Linked DNA regions of Homo sapiens: regions 1, 2, 3 and 5 are each linked to region 4. The links are contacts of gene promoters, found by promoter capture Hi-C in blood cells and fetal thymus (Javierre and others, 2016). All regions are on one chromosome and are shown on one strand. The core of a region is centred on a gene start or on the middle of the fragment in contact, and the rest is flanking DNA. Distances in the headings are between cores, read along the strand shown. Region 1 holds the start of CYLD (CYLD lysine 63 deubiquitinase). Region 2 holds the start of HEATR3 (HEAT repeat containing 3). Region 3 holds the start of NKD1-AS1 (NKD1 antisense RNA 1). Region 4 overlaps BRD7 (bromodomain containing 7). Region 5 holds the start of CNEP1R1 (CTD nuclear envelope phosphatase 1 regulatory subunit 1).

What was found. The method cuts DNA at HindIII sites, captures the fragments that hold promoters and counts their contacts. A CHiCAGO score of 5 or more calls a contact.
Region 1: a contact is called between the fragment with the promoter of CYLD here and a fragment that was not itself captured in region 4, in 12 of 17 cell types (naive CD4 T cells, total CD4 T cells, naive CD8 T cells and 9 more). The highest score is 21.6, in naive CD4 T cells.
Region 2: a contact is called between the fragment with the promoter of HEATR3 here and a fragment that was not itself captured in region 4, in 1 of 17 cell types (neutrophils). The highest score is 7.8, in neutrophils.
Region 3: the fragment with the promoter of NKD1-AS1 here is called in contact with a fragment that was not itself captured in region 4 in 3 of 17 cell types (non-activated CD4 T cells, naive CD4 T cells and activated CD4 T cells); the score reaches 7.0 in non-activated CD4 T cells.
Region 5: the fragment with the promoter of CNEP1R1 here is called in contact with a fragment that was not itself captured in region 4 in 3 of 17 cell types (neutrophils, naive CD8 T cells and M2 macrophages); the score reaches 7.8 in neutrophils.

The regions. Positions count from the first base shown.
Region 1 is chr16:50,740,829-50,743,528 of GRCh38, reverse strand. It overlaps CYLD (CYLD lysine 63 deubiquitinase), which reads right to left and starts at 1,443. Exons shown (of 19, transcript NM_001378743.1): 1 at 1,405-1,443; 2 at 688-767. CYLD-AS1 (CYLD antisense RNA 1) reads left to right here and starts at 782. Exons shown (of 7, transcript NR_184279.1): 1 at 782-858; 2 at 2,125-2,201. It overlaps MIR3181 (microRNA 3181), which reads right to left and starts at 1,224; the gene lies at 1,152-1,224. RefSeq lists an enhancer at 689-788 and a silencer at 1,029-1,628. The HindIII fragment of the contact is 2,791 bases long and covers 1-1,913 here.
Region 2 is chr16:50,064,650-50,067,349 of GRCh38, reverse strand. It overlaps HEATR3 (HEAT repeat containing 3), which reads right to left and starts at 1,380. Exons shown (of 15, transcript NM_182922.4): 1 at 1,081-1,380; 2 at 811-983. The coding sequence starts at 1,218. HEATR3-AS1 (HEATR3 antisense RNA 1) reads left to right here and starts at 1,026. Exons shown (of 3, transcript NR_186390.1): 1 at 1,026-1,297; 2 at 2,543-2,659. RefSeq lists silencers at 658-917, 998-1,047, 1,378-1,427 and an enhancer at 1,278-1,572. The HindIII fragment of the contact is 22,013 bases long and covers 1-2,700 here.
Region 3 is chr16:50,612,322-50,615,021 of GRCh38, reverse strand. NKD1-AS1 (NKD1 antisense RNA 1) reads left to right here and starts at 1,372. Exons shown (of 3, transcript XR_007065197.1): 1 at 1,372-1,431. The region is part of intron 4 of NKD1 (NKD inhibitor of Wnt signaling pathway 1); the gene reads right to left. The HindIII fragment of the contact is 2,641 bases long and covers 366-2,700 here.
Region 4 is chr16:50,336,951-50,339,650 of GRCh38, reverse strand. All of the region lies in intron 6 of BRD7 (bromodomain containing 7), which reads left to right. Among named protein-coding and RNA genes, the nearest start is that of BRD7, 31 kb to the left of the region's middle. The HindIII fragment of the contact is 6,225 bases long and covers 1-2,700 here.
Region 5 is chr16:50,023,898-50,026,597 of GRCh38, reverse strand. CNEP1R1 (CTD nuclear envelope phosphatase 1 regulatory subunit 1) reads right to left here and starts at 1,373. Exons shown (of 6, transcript NM_001281789.2): 1 at 1,258-1,373; 2 at 131-202. The coding sequence starts at 1,282. RefSeq lists a silencer at 1,060-1,369 and an enhancer at 1,183-1,684. The HindIII fragment of the contact is 11,127 bases long and covers 455-2,700 here.

The DNA of each region.
Region 1 (2,700 bases), core at 194-2,693, 400 kb before region 4:
TGTGCTTTATATAACAAGCCTTATCTGCTTCTCACAAAAGTTACCACCCAGAGGAAGGTTTATTTGCAAGAATACTATACAATTTTGCAGCAGAATATTAGAGAATGTTCTGGGTGTTACTTCAATAAGAATTTCCAGCAAATCATTTTCTCCTAATACTGTTCTAGTTCAAATCCACCTACTGCTCAGTGGGGAATGGGAGGCTAAATTCTTAAGGCCATTCAGTCTACTTGGGGCGTGAGGGGGTGTGTAGAAAGCCAACAATCAAACGAACACCCTCTCAAGGCCTGGGTGCTTCTCTGAGAGCCAATGATTGCAAAATGAACAATCTTATTAAGATCCCTAATTAGCCCGAATTCAAAAGCAAGGTAGGCATGCTCCTTAGCTGAGCTAAGGATAAAACTTTCCAGGAAAAATTGAGGAGAAGAAGGTGGCAGGGATGATGGGGGCTGGGAGACTGCAAGGCCACAGGCTTGGTGGCTGGAAGATGACAACTATCCTAAAACATTCAAATGCCAAGGGGTGGAAGAGAAACGATGCCAAGTACATGAATAACCGGCAGCTGACCCAGCTGAGTACCAAACTCAACACCATCTCCTGAAGATTTCATGACTTCGCCCCCGCCCCCCATTCGCCCCCCACCCCCCTCGATTGTTAACATGAAAGAAAAACATAAAGAAAGAATACCTGTCACAGCAGGGCGCACCTTTCAACTAAGGAACTCCGGGTGGCTGTGTAGAACCATCCTCACCCTAGAAAGGGGGAAACTGAAAGAAAAAGCAGAACACGCCATTAACAAGGCCAGAACCCCGACTGCCATTCCTGGACGGGAGCCACCAACACCCGCAAAATCGATCGGTACGTACGCCCCGCGGCGCGGTCGGTAGGAATCACAGCCCCGGGCTCCTGAGGCCAACCGTGGCCGTCGGGGCCCGCCAGCGGCCTGTGCCTCAGTCTCCCAATCTGTAAATGGGGTGGGGGGCGGGAGGGGGACAGCGTCCCGCGCGGCTCCCGCCCCAAGTCCTCTCTCCTCTGGGGGTCCCGATGGTGGCGACCCCGCACGCTCCCCGGACTCGCAGCCCTCCCGGGAAGCCTCGGGGGATGGGGAAGCCCCGGTGGGGGGGGGAAACCCGGGCTGACGTCAGCGGGCTCGGCAACCCGCGGGCCCGGCCGGCTCGGGCCCGGGCAACTAACGGGCCGGCGCCGAGGGCCCGATGGTCGCCGCGGCGGCTCCGGACGCCCTGAGGCCAGGCGGCTGCGCCGAGGGGATCCGGCCGCCCGCCGGCCGCCAGCCGCCCGCTCATTCACTAACCTCGGGCGGCGGGGCGTCGCCCCTCGCCCCGGCTCCCCAGCCCGCGTCCCGGGCCGGCCCCGGCTCCCCACACCCACCGCCCTAGTATTTACCTCCGACGCGCGGCCCCCGCGCAGCCAAACCTGCTACCTGGGCCCGCCCCCACCTGCCCCGCCTCCGAACCGCACAGGGAAGAGGGAGGGAGCGGGGGCGGAGGGGGCAGCCGCCGCGCTAGCCAATCGTAGGCCGAGCTGCGCTCCTGAGCGGGCCGTGATTGGGCCTCCCTGTGACAGACCTTCCTCCAATGGCTGCCAGCCCGGCGCCGGCCGAAGGGACTTTCCGCTCTGTCAAGCTCGGTGGAACCAAAGGGAAAGCGAAGGGGCGGGGCAGAGAAGAGCGGCGGATGGAGGCGGGAAGCTCAAGCTGATTGGGCGAAAGGCTGTGGGTGCCGCGTCACCATTGGCTGATGCTGGAGCCGGGGCGGGGCGCTGCGCTGCCACCAGCTCCGCCTCCCGTGCTCCCGCCTCAGCTGTCAAAACTGTAGACGCTTAGGTTTGGGCTGGGTTAAGAGTCCAGATGAAGGTTGAAATAGGATTCCAGGATGCCGTGAGAGAGCAAAGCTTTAGAATCAGACCTCAGTTTGAATCTTTGGCGCTTTCATTCAGTGGCTGCGTGACCTGAGGAAGTCACAACCACGCTGAGCCTCAATGTCCTCATCTGTAAAATGGAGATCATAGTATCGGTTGTCTTACAGGATTGTGGCAAAATACCGAGCTAAAGTTCCTGGCACGCAGTACCAGCTCAGGAAAGGTTCATCTCTTCCTCCTCCGCAGATTCAGCCTGGGACGCTTGCTGTTTCCGAACCTCTGTTGCCACCTATCCCAGTTTGGAGGGAATTTTCCCAAGGATGGTGAAGAAGGGATTTCCACACGCCGCCTCACTCAGCCCCGCACCCCTGGCCACCAGCCAGGACTTAGGGTGTAGTTAAGGATCTTTCAATTAGAAGGGAGGCTTCTGATTCCCAAAAGCACTCAAAATATTTAAGGAAGTGCTTTTTATAATCAGTCCTAGAGCCTTGCTGCACTGGATACTCCTGTTAATTAATTTCTTCTCCTTTGACATTTTAAGTGCTAATTATAGGAGAAGGTGATTAACACTGAGAAAGGAGGAGGGGTGTGTGTGTGTGTGTGTGTGTGTGTGTGTGTGTTTTTAATCATGACACAAATTTCCCCCAGTGGAAAGTGACATGTTTCTGGAGATCCAGGGAATTTAAACCAATGAATACATAAAAACAGTCACATGAGTGATGACTAACAGTAGCAGTAGACAGGCCACCACTCTTCCTTGCCATAGTCATCCAAAATGAAATGAGCATCTTTTGAAAACCTAAGCCTCATTCTACTCCTGTC
Region 2 (2,700 bases), core at 131-2,630, 270 kb after region 4:
AGGGTCTTGTTCTATCACCCAGGCTGGAGTGCAGTGGTGTGATCATAGCTCACTGCAGCCTCGAACTCCTGGGCTCAAGCGATTCTCCTACCTCAGCCTCCTGAGTAGCTGGGATTACAGGCACCCACCACCATGCCCGACTAATTGTTTATAATTTTTCTACAGACGGGGTCTTGCTATGTTGCCCAGGTTGGCCTTGGACTCCTGGCCTCCAGTGATCCTCCTTCCTTGGCCTCCCAAAGCAATGGGATTACAGGTGTGTGCCACCGCGCCCGGCCCAAGAGCACCCAATTCAAACTTCCCACCCCCAACTCATCATCATCTCGTTTTCCCACAGCAATTCTCACTATTTAATATTATGTTTTACCTTTTTACTAGCTTCCTGTCTGTCTCCCCATCAACATGACTTGTGCCAAGACAGGGATCTTGGCTGTCAACAGATCTCGCTCAAAAGTCTTGGCTGCTCAAAGTCCCCTGCATCTAGAACGATTCCTGACACATGAACTGAAGAGTTCATCCAAGCAAGGGACCCTAAGGAGGGCTTTTGGAGAGTGTAAAACGTGCGCAAGGCGTGAGGGCAGGACGCCTGAGCAGGTGGACGCTGCAGGTGAAGCAGCCAGGTGGACAGATGAGATGCGGGGATACTGGGCTTCTCCGGAGCCTGGAGACTGGCTTCAAATCTCTGCAAACGGGAGACCGGGCCAGTGCCTGATGGCACACAGAAGGCGCTGGGTGACCGCTGCGACCGCCCGCAGCCCAGACGCGGGGGAGGCCAGCGGTGGGCACCGCCCCGCACCCTTCCTGGCTCACCTCAGCGCGCCGGCTGCAGTCTCCCTGACGGCCAGGCTGGGGTCTAGCAGCAGCGGCCCGAGGCGGCGCACGGCGTCTCGTCGCGCCAGGCCCGGGAGTGCCGGCCGCTGCTGCACCAGCCGGGCCAGCCCTGCGCAGGCGCACTCGCGGACCTCGGCGCTCGGGTGCTGGAGCTGCGGATGAGAGCGAAAAGGGTCAGAAGGCGCGCAATGCGCACGCGCGCGGGGCAACCTCGTCTCGCCTCCCGGCCCGACGGAGCCCTCGCCTCACCTTTTCCAGCAGCTCCGCCGCCGGCCCGTCGTCCTCCTCGCCTCCGGTCCCATTCGCCGCCGCAGCCGCCTCGGCCTGACAGTCGCCCGTAGGGGAGAACTGAGGTCGCTTGAAGCGCTTCGTCCGGCTCTTGCCCATGGTGACGTGCGCTGGGCGGACAGACCACCGAGAGAGGAGGGCAACAGCAGGCGGTGGAGGCTGCCGCGCCGTTAACAAGGTCCGTTGCTGCTGCTCAGCTGGGCCGGCTGACGGCTGCAGCACACATGGGCAAGCCGTGCGCAGGCGCACGGCGCGTCGTCTGCCGGGTCGGGGTTGGGGCGGGGCGGGGTGGGGGGAACTGGCGCACGGAGCGCGCAGGCGTGGAAGAGGGCATAGGCGGGGCCAGCTTCGGCAAAGGGGCGGAGCCTTGTGGGTTTACCGGGTAAGTAGGAGGTTGGACTAGAATAGTAACGCCGACCCGGGCGAGAGGATCACTTGAGGCCAGAAGTTCGAGACCATCTTGGGCAACATAGGAAAACACTCCACTCCCTGTCCTCCCCACCAAAAAAATTAAAAATTATCTGGGCATAGTGGCGTGTGTGTGTAGTCCCAGCTACTTGGGACGTTGAAGCCGGAGGATCACTTGACCCCAGGAGTTTGAGGCTGAGGTGAGCCGTGATCCTGCTACTGCACTCCATCCTGGGCGACAGAGCGAGACCCTGTCTCAATCAATCAATCAAGCAACCAATAAGTTAGTAACACCGGCTACAAATAATCAAATGTGATTAAGAATACCTAACTTGCAAGGTTATTGTAAGTTCTGTAAAGTTCATAAAGTTCTGTAAAGTGCCTAACACCAAGCCTGATATATAGCAGGTACTCAAAAAGCATTAACCACGATTTTATTTTGTGTCCCCAGCACCTCCCATAGCTCCTGTCGTAGACAGAGACTAGTTAATGTTTTGGAACGAATGTGTGTCTATATTTGATAAAACAGAATCGCTTAAGAACCTAATCTCCCTGCCTTAGTTTCCTCATCAGTGAAGTGGGGACATCGATAGTATATACCTCATGGAGTTGTTACGAAGACTAAATGTGTTCATATGTTTAAGGTGCTAAGAACAGAGACTGGCAGATACTAAGCACTATGTAAATGTTTGGAAACGTATTTAACAAAGAGATTCTTTTGCAGATATTTGTTGAGTACTAGGTACAGTGCTGGGCATTGGAATAAAGCAGTAATCAAGACAGTTTGGTTCCTGTCCTCTCTCCCTGTCCTTATGGAATTTACAGTCCAGGGAGAGATCTGTTGAATATATAATTATATGAATAACTTTGGTTATAATTGTGGTAAATACTAAGCAGAGGGAAAAGTACAGGAGAATCTTAGGTGGTCTTTATAATTAGACATGTAACGAGTGAGTACTCAATATATGCATAGCTTTGGGTCAATTTTCTTTTTTTCTTTTTGTTTTTGAAACAGAGTCTCACTCTGCTGTCCAGGCTGGAGTGCAATGGTGCGATCTCGGCTTATTGTAACCTCTGCCTTGGAGTTCAAGCAGTCCTCCTGCCTTAGCCTCCTAAGTAGCTGAGATTACAGGTATGTGCCACCATGCCCAGCTATTTTTTTTTTATTATTAT
Region 3 (2,700 bases), core at 123-2,622, 280 kb before region 4:
CTCAGTACCCCTACCTGACCCAGCTTGTTTCATCCTGAAGGCCACGTGGCTGGTCCTAGGTCAGTATGAAAGAAGAGTTTATGAAGAAGCTAATGAAGCTAGGCTTCTGGGCCCTCTCACCTACACGGGCCCTTTCCAAGTCAGGATGGGTCTTTGCAAGGTGTTTATGTGGTCATATGTGTTTGTATTTGTAACATTTTCCAAATTAGGCATTTTATCCTCAATCTATTAAGATTGTCATCTAACCATTCTGACATCCTTTGCCTGTGTGAGGTGATACTAGGGGAAATACAGGCATTTCTGGACATGAGCTAAGGAGAGACTGAGTTGGTGAGATATTTATTTTGGTTTGGCCCCAGAAAGCTTCAGGTCCCATAAAACCTAGATCTACCCTGGTCAAGTGACCAGTAAAGTGGTCAATAAAGTGAGTCCAACATGTGCAAGAACCCCTGTGACCTGGGAACTTTCTTCCACCTGACAGGGCTGTGCTCATAGGATGGGAGTGCCCAGAGCTGGGAACTGCCACCCTTGCCCCCTGTGGGGGAGAAGCCACCAGGGGACAGAGGGAGAGATGATGGAGAGGGAGAGAGAGGGGCAGCGAGCGAGACATGTGTGTGAATGTGTGAGTATACGTGTGTGTGTGAGTGTGTGTGTGTGCGTGCATGTGTCCATGACATGGTTTTAGCTCCAGAATCCAAACAGGCCTTTTTAGGCAAGATCTACCCTAGGATTTTTCAATTTCATGAGCCAAAAGTTTAAGTGAGTTTCCAAAAGAACCGAAAGAATCCTGACTTAACAAATCCGTCTCTCTGAGATCCTGCTTTTTAGGAAAAACCACCAGCACCAGCACCACAGCAGTAATTCACTCACCCAGGGCAGTCCCTCTAGGGTGATTTCCAGCTTTTTCACCTGTGGGTGTCTGCCCCTTCCTGAGACCAGAAATGCCACCAGGGACTTCTTCTCCACCATCCTGCCTCCCAGCTGCATTTTACTGCCACTAGATTTTGCTTATGGACCAATTGTAACTGAGGGGAAACAAAAAAGGGGGAAAAGCGGGTAGGGGAGGAAATCCTTCTCAACAAATAACATTCTGGCCTTTTTTTCCTCATCAGAGCATAAGGCTGGTGGCCACTCGGCTTTGACATCTGAACAGGATTGAGACGAAACATCTGTTCAGGGAGGGAGGGGGAAGCCCCGGGAGAGAAGGGGAAAGGGGAGAAAAAGCCTTCTGTGGGCTAAAAATATCACGTCCCTTCCACTCTCCCCCGCCCGCCCCCACCCAAGTTAAAACATGTGATGAAATTCGGCTTTTACAATCTAACCCCGAGCTACTTGAAACTATTAAAGCCTCTCCGGTATCTGACACAAGTCAGAATTTCCACTGTTCCAGCTGAGCTTTTATGAGGAGCAGACTTGAGAGAAACTGCCAAGGTAACAAAGTCCGCTTGTTCTCTGTCACCGCTGCAACTCAGCTTCTGGGGGGACTGTAGGGGAGTGGAGAGTCAGGGCCGCTGACACCCCCCGACAGGACAGGCTCTGAACTGAGGGAGAGGAGCCGGCGGGGCATGGGCACCTGCCCCTCCATCTGGGGGTCCCTGCTGCCTTCCCATGAACTCCTCTTCCTCCCAGCCTTCCTGGGAAGCCACCGCCAGCCCTGTGTATTGAGGAGCCTTGCCCGAGAGTCCCGGGCAATGTCCGTGGCTACTTCCTGAGAAGTCTTGACTCGCTCTCTCTCTCTGTTTCTTGCCCAACTGCTCCTTGAACCCCAAGCTCCAATCACCAGGTATCCCACGGCCTCCTCGGTACCTCTCCTTGGATGTTAAATGGGCATCTTGAACCCAACTGGTCCAAAAACGGGAGGCTTGATGGTCACCCGCCAAAACCTCCACCTCAGAAGTGACACCGCCAAATCCTTAGTTCCTGAAACCAAAAGTCTAAGATGCATCCCTGATCTCTCTCGTTCCCTCAACCCCCTTCTCACCAGCTCCAACCTCCAGCCCCATGGACCTCTCCCCAGCCCCAAGCTCCCAGGCTAGGCCAGCACCATCTCCTCTCGCCTGCGACCCTGCAGTCACCTCCTGGTTTCATTGCCCTCTTCCTCCCTGCCCATGGGCAGTCCCTCCCAGAAGCCAGAATTAACTTCTTAAAACAGAGGTCAGAATCCAGCAGTCACCCACCCAACCATCTGGGCAGAACCACGCAACCTAAGGGCGTGGTCCCACACTTGCCGACCACCCCACTCTCATTCCTGATGCCACATCGGCCTCCTTTTTGTTCTTCCCCAAACACCAAGTTCCCTCCACTCTGGGGTTCTGCTCACTCATAGCTGCTCTCCCCCTACATTCTTCCATGGCTGGCTCCTTCCTGGCATCTGCATCTCAGCTGAAACATCACCTTCTCAGAAAAGCCTCCTCACTCTACCTCTCCCTGGGTTTTACGTCTTAGCAGAGAACCACTACTAGAAACTTCCATGCTCCTTCGCAGATTTATGTATTCATCCCTGCCTCCCTCCTGTGAATGTCGTGACTGCTGGGCCTGCCTACCTTGCTCGTGCCTGTGAACCCAGGGCCCAGCAGAGCCCCTAGCTGCAGCAAATGCCCAGCACATACTGAATGGTGAGGAGTGAGGGGCCAGATTCTGTTCTCAGTCTGCTGTGTGACCCTGGACAGGTCACTTCCCTCTCTGGGCTTCAGTTTTCCA
Region 4 (2,700 bases), core at 182-2,681:
TCTGTTTGCATTTGTAGGGGTGGAATCTAACGTTGGTCAGTCCTGTCAGAAGCACAGAATTTCTAGTAAGAAAATACAGTCATGCGCTGCATAATACTGTATATACAGACTGCATATACAGTGGTGGTTCCATAAGATTGTAATACTGTATTTTTACTGTACTTTTGTTATATTTAAATGCACACATACTTAGCATTGTGTTACAGCTGTCTGCAGTATTCAGTATGGTAACATGCTGTATAGGTTCCTAGCCTAGGAGCAGTAGGCTATATCATTTAGCCAGGTGTCTGATAGGCTATACCATCTAGGTTTGTGTGAGTGTACTCATTGATGGTCACACAACAAAATTGCCTAACAGTACATTTCTCAGAACGCGTCCCTTCATTAAGCTACATGTGACTATATACAAATGAGAGAAAATTTGAAACTGTCTCAAAACCACCTCTCCACAACAGCAGACTCTTCCTTAAAGGGTAAGAATTAGTGCATAGTAAGTCATTTGAGGTCAGAGAAGTGTGTGCGTAGGCACAGACACATCATCATCAAACTGCAGGAAAGAGCGTAAACATGAGATATTATACACAGTGGCAAAAAATTACTAGTGTCCCCAGGACGACAGTTGATAAAAGGCTTTGAAGGGTAAGCTGAGATGATCACTGTGCATCCGCTGGAGAAAATAACTCGCAAGATAAGCCATATCTTTTGAGGTTTTTCTCACCACTCTGAGTGGGAGAAACCTATGTAAGAGACTACTTTAGGGAACGAATCAAGGGTGATCCTGGCACCATACCATACCATGGCAGGCAGGCAGAAGAGAGTTTTCATTTTAGCTCTCTTCCACTAACTTGTGGACTTTGGGCAAGACATTAACTACCCTGGGACTCAGTGTTCTCATCCCTAAAGAAGGGTTTAGTCTGTGGTCTCCAAGATGATTTCTAGCATTACTGTTCTGATTCTAGATAAGAGGTAGAGTAGAGAGGATACTATGAAAAAGAACCACAAGATAGGACAGGGATTTTGCAAAGAAGAAATGAGTGGGTATAAGACACTGGTAGAAGGAGAAAGGAATCAGAGTCCAGAGCTTGAGCTCACATTCAGGGGAGTTAAAGGATGATAAAAATGAGTCGTGCATCTGCATGTGGTTTTTCGATTTTTATGGTGATTCATTTTTCTGTATTACAGTTTTACATTTAAAGAAATGCCTTGGTGTGCAGATGTCTGAGTGTCTGTATGCTTGGCTGAGAGATTCTTGGATTCACTTAACTAGAGAAAGAAAAACATGTTTGGATTGTTGATTATTCTTGCGCTCCTAATATTTAGACAACTTTGGTTCCCACCCTTTCCTAAAGACTTGGGAAACTAATGGAAGCCAGTTACCCATCTTTGACAACATTCGCAGAGGAAAGAGGAATATGAAATGTTTACCCATTCTTTGCAGGAAGACTCTCAGAATCTAGAACCATGCCATATTCCAGGTTTAAAGACATGGAAATGCTTCTTGTTAATGTATTTGAAGTAAAAATGCATTTGTCAAATGCAGCCTTTAGTCACTCCAAAATATGTACATTGAATTGGGTGGTGGGAGCCTAATTTTTAATGACCTTTGATTTACCACTTCCTTAAGTAATGTAGTTAATACAACAAGCAAAAGATTCCATTATCTCTTGAATTTTACTGGCGTGTGGAATGGTTGAAAGCACAGAAAATAAAATTTTCTTCACTTTCCCTTCCCTCTCTCCCTCTTTCTTTCTCTCTGTTGTCTTCCTTTTTTTCAGATCTTTTGCTGTTGAGGAGCCCCACCCATCCTGTGTTATTAGCTTCCTATTGACTGTTCTCTCCACCCTACAGGGGAGGGGTCGTCACAACAGTGATTTTTAAACGTTTAAATTTAGACCTTTTGAGTTAACTCTTCTAATAGTTTGTGCTCCAAGAGAGCCCAGCACACCCTTCCGTGAATGGTGTCTTTTCAAAGATAACTGTTTTTGAATGTTCATTGAAAAAATTGTAGAGTAGTCACTCATCATTTTTTCAGTTACACTCAAATAACAACTATTAGTAGACGTGTTATTTTTATAAAGAATGAACAGATGAGGCCAGGAACAGTGGCTCATGCCTGTAATCCCAACACTTTGGGAGGCTGAGGTGGGCGGATCATCTGAGGTCAGGAGTTTGAGACCAGCATGACCAACATGGAAAAACTCCGTCTCTACTAAAAATACAAAATTAGTTGGGCGTGGTGGTGCATGCCTGTAATTCCAGCTACTCAGGAGGCTGAGGCAGGAGAATCGCTTGAACCTGGGAGGTGGAGGTTGTGGTGAGCCAAGATCACGCCACTGCACTCCAGCCTGGGCAACAAGAGGGAAACTCCGTCTCAAAAAAAAAAAAAAAAAAAAAGAAGAATGAACAGATGAAGAGTAACTTTTTATCTCCTAAATAAATACTTGAGTAAAATGCTGCATTGTAGTACAAACAAAGTAGTACAAACAATACTATTTGTAGCATAGTGGCTTTGAAATCAGACCAATCAAGGTTCAAGTCCTAGCTCTACCCTTTGGAAGCTGTGTGACTTTAGCCCAGGTAACCTTTGTCAGCCTTTTTCCTGTCCTGTAAAGTGGGGATAATAGTAGTACTTACCTCATGGAGTTGTGTCTGGCACATGGGTAAGCACTAAGTAAATGTTAGCTATATTATTAGCAAAGA
Region 5 (2,700 bases), core at 124-2,623, 310 kb after region 4:
TCTTCATAAGGCATTGTCTACAATGTTAAATAAATTTAAACAAACATTTTACATAAAAGCAAATCATTCCTATATTAGGATAAAAGTATCAATTGTTAGTTTTCCCTTAAAATAACATTCAGGAACTTACTTCTCCAGCGTCCAGTAGCAGGTTGCAAACAATGAATATATTCAGTAAGTCTCCTCTCAAAAGCCTTGAGATCTAGGTATAAAGATGTCAATTTTCTAATTAGCCACTCTTACTCGTCTGACGAAATGTCAGAGTATTTACCTAACATTAAGACGACATGTGAGATACTCTTAACTGCTTCAGGTCTTACACACTAACTTCCATGTATCACTGCACTGTTTATTTCATTTACTATGACAGCTTTTTAAGCACTTGACAAAAAATTAGGGCTCTTTAATTCCAATTTCTCATATAAGAAAACTTGCTGATTTACTTTTAGAAGCTTCATAAATGGTATTGGGAGAAATAAGCAGCAGCCTCGGCCAGCGCCAAAAGCGAACATTTTCAGGGTTGCAAATAAAATTAAAATCAGGTCGAGTTTTAGCTCTCTGGGAACCAAGAACTTCCTATTAGAACCACGTAGTGCCTAACATCAAAGTCTTCGAGGTCTACCTGACTGCAATTACCCGCCTCCGGTTTCCAGCTCTTATATTTAATTAATGGCTACGCCGTCTGGCCTTACTAGACTTCTTGACACTGATAGCGAGTGGGTGTGGAAAGACATTCCCCTTGCCCCCTCCGAAGGGGTACAGGTGATCTTCGTGGCACCCAGGCAGCGCCTAGTTCTAGAAGACAGGGGCGTCTAAGCTGCTCCGAGTGAGTGGTGGGGTATCCTTTCCGCAGTGGTGTGCTTTAAACTTTAAAACACCGAGCAGCACTTCCTAACCTTGGCAGTTACCGGAAACCACCGCAGGAATCAGGGATACAACTCGCGGGGCTGTGAGAATGAAATGAAATGAATTAGCAGGCTGCAATGCACGAAGTGCAAGTGTCTGCCAGTGAAAAGAAAATAAAAATAGAAGCTGGCGAGGAGGTCGACCCTCTAGGTTTGTGGGGACTCAGGGAGCTGAGGCACCGCCCCCCGCGTCTGGCCAGGTACGGCCGCCTACGCGCCCCCAAGCTCCGGGCCCCTAGCTCCATCCTCTGCGGCCTCCTCCCGGGGCGGGGGTCTTCACGACGCCGGCTCCTCCGGAGCACCGCCAGCTTCCGAGGGGAGACGGGGGACGGGCCCGGGCGGCCCACCCTACCTTCCGCCTGCTCCAGCGAGTTCATGTCGGGCGGCAGCTCGGGTCACCGCCGCTGCCCTGTCCGCATCGCAGCTTCCGCGGCCCCCGCCCGGCCCGCAGCGCCAACTCCCACCTCTAACCGCTCCCCGCTGCCCCTCCCCGTCGCACCGCCCCTTGCCTAGACCCGCTACGCTCATTGGATTCCTCTACTAGACCTCCAACTAAGACAGCTTTCTATTGGCTGTCTCTTGCACCGGCCTCGGCGCCTAGCGTTGGACGGTCAGCCGGAGGGACCAAGAACTGCCGGCGGCCAGGCGGGCGTAACGCTGGCGTCGCCTGCTGCCCCGGGGAGGAACTGCAGCCCTCCGGAGCCAGTTCGTTCATTCATTTATCCCCCGTTCCCCGCTTGGTTCTTTCATTCGTCAAATGTTGATTGAGCGCCCACTACCTTCCAGGCATTATTCTGGTCGCTAGCGAGGGATACAGAAATCAAAGAGCTGGTTCTGTCCTCAAGGATCTCAAGGAGTAATGAAATCTGTACAGAACTAACTAGAACCCTAAATAACCAGTTTCCTTAATTATGGTATCCTAGATAACCAACCCCTTAAGTAAACACTTCTCTCTTGGTTACTTTCCTCTCACATCACCCAGCTTTCATAATTCCTAAATGAGGCAAAGTGTAAGCCCAAATACCTATAACTTAAGAAGAGATCTGTAAGGGATTGACTACATTTGTATTTGATCACAAGGCCTTCTTGTTCATTTATTGGTGGCATTCTTTCATTCAAAATCATTTTATTGCCTAACATGCTAGACACTGTATTGATACGCGTGTGAGCCAGGTAGACAGGATTCCTGCCCGCAAAGAGGAAGGGCTACAGCAGGCAACAAACATGCAAATAAGTAATTGATTTCAAATAAGAATAGTTGTGTTAAAATAGAGATCCTGGCCGGGCGCGGTGGCTCACGCCTGTTAATCCCAACACTCTGGGAGGCTGAGGCGCGTGGATCACTTGAGGTCAGGAGTTGAGACCAGCCTGGGCAACATGACAAAACCCTGTTTCTACTGAAAATACAAAAAAATTATCCAGACGTGGTGGTGCATGCCTGTAATCCCAGCTCTTTGGGAGGCTGAGGCACGAGAGTCACTTGAACCCAGGAGACGGAGGTTGCAGTGAGCCACTGCACTCCAGCCTGGGTGACAGCGTGAGACTGTCAAAAAAGAAAAAGAAAAAAAAAAGAATCTAAGACTGATGGGCTAGATTTTTTTGTGGCAGTAACATACCAACTTATAAACAAGACCTAAGGCCCTGCCAGGCAAGGGTTAAATCACTCAAGACCCAGACACTTAAAGAATAAACGATGTTCTAACTGCCACAATGTTCGTTTTTTTCCTCTAGCAGCTAAACAAGCAATATTAAAACAATTGCAGCTTACCAAGTACCAGTCACTGACTAACTGATC